2 separate regions of the Homo sapiens genome follow, and region 2 is linked to region 1. Evidence: promoter capture Hi-C in human tissues and cell types (Jung and others, 2019). All regions are on one chromosome and are shown on one strand. Each heading gives the region's core, a stretch centred on a gene start or on the middle of the fragment in contact. The rest is flanking DNA. Distances are from core to core; before and after follow the strand shown.

Region 1 (2,512 bases), core at 6-2,505:
CTCAGCTGTGGGGTCCGTTCCTGCGAGAAGCCAGCAGGACTCCCCATGGAAGGTTTCCCCCAGGCTGGGCCCCTCTGACTTGTGAGACTTCCAGCAGCACTTTTATCTACAGTATTGGAGGGGTCTGATGAAGCCTCTGGGTTCCCCTCCTGGACTGAAGACAGGTTCTGATATAATTGCCGGACGGGTTCTCCTTGCCCGTTGCCCAGAGCTGATTCATCAAGACAGGGGAATTGCAATGGAGATTTTAATTCATGCAGAGCCGGCTGAATGAGATACCAGAGTTTTATCACTCAAATAAGTCTCCCCGATAATTCAGAGACTGGGGTTTTTTAAGGATAATTCGGCTGGTAGGTATCAGGCAGTGGGGAGTGCTGATTGGTCAGGTTGGAGATGAAATCATAGGGGGGTCTAAGTGGGTTCTTCTTGCTGTTTTCTGTTCCTGGGTGGGATTGCAGAACTGGCTGAGCCAGATAACTGGTCTAGGTACTGCCAGCTGGTGCCTCAGAATGCAGGGTCTGAAAAATATCCCCAGCACCGATCTTAGATTTTACAATAGTGATGTTATCCCTTGGAGCAATAGGGAAGGTTTGGAATCTTGTGACCTCTGTCTGGATGACTCCTAAACCATAATTTCTAATCTTGTGGCTAATTTGTTAGTCTTACAAAGGCAGTCTGGTCCCCAGGCAAGAAGGGGGTTTGTTTTGGGGAAGGGCTGTTATCTTTGCTTCGAAGTTCAACTATAAACTAAATTCCTCCCAAAGTTAGTTTGGCCTATACCCAGGAATGAACAAGGGCAGTTCGGAGGTTAGAAGCAAGACGGAACTGGGTAAGTCAGATCTCTTTCACTGTCATAATTTTCTCACTTACAATTTTTGCAAAGGCAGTTTATCCGAATGCTCCGCATGTGTGTACCCTCAGCGACTACACAGCTCCTGTACTATAAAGAATATTTCAGAATGGCTTCGGTAGCCGGCAGCACCTTCCTCCTCTCGCAGCAGAGAAGTGTTTTGCTCTGGAAACTTGACTGGAGCCTTTCCCAGCCTATCTAGCGAACAGCAGAGCATCATCCCGACTCCGCGGACTACCGCGGCCCAACAGCAAGGGTCGCGGCTCCCCGGCGCTCTCTGCCGCCCTCTACCGGAACCGAGGGAGCCAGACAGCTGCGATATTGGGAAGGCCTCCGGAGCCGCGAAGAGCGCACGCGCGAGCGCGCGCCCGCGTTCTCCTGGCGGGCTTGGTATTTGGCGCCTGCGCGCTGAGTGCGTGCCGCTCCGCCGACCGAAGAGGCTGGTAAGTCCTCAAGCTGGCAGGTGGTCGGGGGAGCGGCCGGAGAGGAGCTGCCGGGAGTTCGTGCCCTGCAGGTCTGCGACGCTGGCGTTCGCTCCTGCCTGGGCCACTTTGGTGGGCTCAGAGCATCGCTTTTTGCCAAGGGGCGTGACCTGAGCCCGCCTCCTGGGGCTGGGGGGTGGAGAGGAATGGGAATCGTTAAGGCCGGTTATCAATTTGGTGCCTGTTTGTTGCTCGAGGAGGGGCATAGAGCTTACAAATAGTGAAGAGGAAGGGGCGAGGCTGGACCAGGTGGGAGCGGGGGTGCCCCAAGTCCCAGGGCGGTGAGGATCGAGGCAGGTGCGTGAAAGGCAGGCCCCGTTCCCCCTCCCCACCCCCGCCGGCTGTGTGTGGCGGGTAAGAGGAGAGTGGGTAGCACTACTACAAAATGAGGGTCCCGATAGAAATCGTACAGGTGTTGGGACCACACTCAGGGCGGCAACTTGTCATTTTTGCGTTTTTAATTTTCTTATAGAAACAAGCGATTTCTGTCGTGATTCACTGGGGCCGCTAACGTGCACTCCCTCTTTTCATCTTAGGACATGACACCAGTGGCATATCACGGCCATGGGGTCTCAGCATTCCGCTGCTGCTCGCCCCTCCTCCTGCAGGCGAAAGCAAGAAGATGACAGGGACGGTTTGCTGGCTGAACGAGAGCAGGAAGAAGCCATTGCTCAGTTCCCATATGTGGAATTCACCGGGAGAGATAGCATCACCTGTCTCACGTGCCAGGGGACAGGCTACATTCCAACAGGTGATCATGGAGGGATGATTCCCTGATGAGAATCCCAAGGTACCCTCGGAGTTCTCCTGTCTGCCCAGACAACTTTTCTTCTAGGCAGTAATACCATAATAGAGACAGTGCCCTGGACAGGAGCCAGCTCAACTGACTTAATACACTTGGGCAGTTCTGCAACTTCTCTTCCTCTCCTTATTTTTCCAACCCTTTCTTTTCTTTACCGCCACTCTTGTTCTTTTCCTGAGGTTTGGAACATTCAGTTCGCTCTGTGTTGTGGGATTTGTTGACAGGCACATTTCTTTATCGCTGTCACAAGGATTGGGACAGCTTTGCGGGGGAACCATCTTGGAAGCTGCTTTTCAAGGAAATGGGTAGCTAATCCTTAACAGCCTAAGGTCAGAAAAATATATCAGGTCAAGAGAGAGAGACAAATACTTAGCCTTG
Region 2 (2,512 bases), core at 5-2,504, 130 kb after region 1:
CTTTACAGAGATAGCTCTTAATCAGAGGTGGTGCTATACCCTGAGTACATATCTGGAAATGTGTGGATATATATTAACTATTAAAATGATTATGGGGGGAGGTGGATGTTACAGGAATTTAGTGCCTAGGGCTCATGGATGCTAAACATCCTACTATAATTAGGAAAGATTCACACATCAAAGAATGATCTCATCCAAATTACTAATGGCTTTCCTATTGAAAAAGACTGCTTAATAGTGCTCCCCACACTTTCATGTGCATATAAATCAAATGAGGATGTTTTTAAAATATAAATTCTGATTCAGTGATATGAGGTAAAGCCTGAGAGTCTGCATTTCTATCAAGCTCCCAAGTAATGTTGATGCTGCTGGTCCCGAACTAGACCTTGAGAAATCAGGCATTATAGCACAGACATCTTAGAGCTGCTGTATATTTTCACATTTCTCCCCCATTTAATGCTCAGCAATTTTAGGTGCTAGTTTAAAAGAACACTGATCTGCATATAAGTAATTTTAAAATTCAGAGGAACAATGAGTTTTCTAAAACGTACTGTTCTCAAAGAACTCATACATAGCCTATTTTGTCTTAACGTCCTTGTCTTAATTTTAATATATAGAGCAGAATTCCAAACACTAAAATTACTGATTCTAAAAAGTTTATAGCTATGCTTGTATTTTTGAGTGTGGCATTTAAACTACATAAGATGAAAACTTATGATGAGCCCAAATAATTAATTAATTAAAGGAAGAAAATTGCTCCTAACCTGCTGGTCAGAAAGCGAAAGCTGGTCCTCTGGAAAACCTGTTTGTGGCAGGAGGTGGGTTTTGAATACGGAGTTGTGGTTCACTAAAGTCACTTCTCCAGCATCCATCCTCATCCTATCAGCAATATCATCTGGGGAGACAGTCTGGATTAGTTCAAGTCACATAATTCTTCAATAACGTTTTTCCTATGAACCAATCTTTTCACCTAATAAAAACAATTCCCACCCAGGCATGGTGTCTCATGCCTGTAATCCCAGCACTCTGAGAGGCTGAGGCAGGAGGATTTTTTTGAGGCCAAAAGTTCAAGATCTATCTAGGCAACATAGTAAGACCCTGTCTCTACAAAAAAATTTAAAAATTAGCCAGCAGGTCAGGTGTGGTGGCTCACACCTGTAATCCCAGCACTTTGGGAGGTTGAGGCGGGTGGATCACGGGGTCAGGAGTTCAAGACCAGCCTGGCCAACATGGTGAAACCCTGTCTCTACCAGAAATACAAAAATTAGCCAGGCATGGTGGCGGGTACCTGTAATCCCAGCTACTCGGGAGGCTGAGGCAGGAGAATTGCTTGACCCTGGGAGGCAGAGGTTGCAGTGGGCCAAGATCGTGCCACTGCACTCCAGCCTGGGCAACAAGAGCAAAACTCCATCTCAAAAAAAAAAAAAAAAAGTTAGCCAGCCAATGTGGCACGTGTCTGTAGCCTCAACCACTTGGGAAGCTGAGGCAGGAGGACTGTTTTGAGCCCATGAGTTCAAATTTACAGTGAGCTATCATCACACCACTGCACTCCAGCCTGGGGGACAGAGGGAGACCCTATGTCTAACAATAATAATAAAAAAAGACAAAAAAGAACTTGAAGAACAACTCTGCAATAAAATAAAATCCCTCTTTCATAGCTAACCAATGGCAAAAATCTCATATTGTCATTGTCAAAAGAGGTCCATGTGCAGAAATTGGCTCATTTGGAATTAATTGAGGCCATCTACCAAACAGTTCAAAACTTGTACACATATAAAAACAGCTTAATTTAAAGCTTTAAAAATAACGAGACCAGGCAAGGTGGCTCACACCTGTAATACTAGCACTTTGGGAGGCTGAGGCAGACGAATGGCTTGAGCCCAGGAGTTCGAGACCAGCCTGGGAAATAAGGCAAAATCTTGTCTCTATTAAAAAACAAAACAAAACATTAGCCAGACATGGTGGTGCATGCCTGTAGTCCCAGCTACTCAGGAGGCCGACCTGGAAGGATACTCTGAGCCCGGGGAGGTCAAGGCTGCAGTGAGCCATGACAGAGTCACTGCACTCCAGCCTGGGTGACAGAGTGAGACCCTGTCTCAGAAAACAACAACAACAACAACAAAGAAAAACACAAACAAAAAACAAAAATGCTCCCAAAAGAAACTTTTTAAATATTTTAACTATAGAAAAAATTTTAAATATAAAAAAATTGGGGGAAAAAATTCACCATTCAGTAACACACACTGTTAACACTGGTTCATTTCCTGTTTTAACACAAAGAAGTGCTTTAAGAAGTAATCCACCTGCCAGGTGTGGTGGCTCACACCTGTAATCCCAGCACTCTGGGAGGCTGAGGTGGGCGGATCACTTACTTGAGGCCAGGAGTTTGAGACCAGCCTGGCTAACATGGCAAAACCCCATCTCTACTAAAAATACACCAGGCATAGTGGCACATGCCTGTAATCCTAGCTACTTGGAGGCTGAAGCATGAGAATCGCTTGAACCCAAGGCA

Evidence for each region. Contacts are between HindIII fragments. The study calls those that stand out against the background at their distance.
Region 2: a fragment that was not itself captured here is called in contact with the fragment with the promoter of TMEM106C in region 1 in 1 of the 25 tissues and cell types used here (H1 embryonic stem cells).

The regions. Positions count from the first base shown.
Region 1 is chr12:47,962,341-47,964,852 of GRCh38, forward strand. TMEM106C (transmembrane protein 106C) reads left to right here and starts at 1,256. Exons shown (of 8, transcript NM_001143842.2): 1 at 1,256-1,364; 2 at 1,869-2,083. The coding sequence starts at 1,897. The HindIII fragment of the contact is 8,708 bases long and covers 1-2,512 here.
Region 2 is chr12:48,097,230-48,099,741 of GRCh38, forward strand. SENP1 (SUMO specific peptidase 1) reads right to left here. Exons shown (of 18, transcript NM_001267594.2): 3 at 765-895. Among named protein-coding and RNA genes, the nearest start is that of SENP1, 7.6 kb to the right of the region's middle. The HindIII fragment of the contact is 5,221 bases long and covers 1-2,512 here.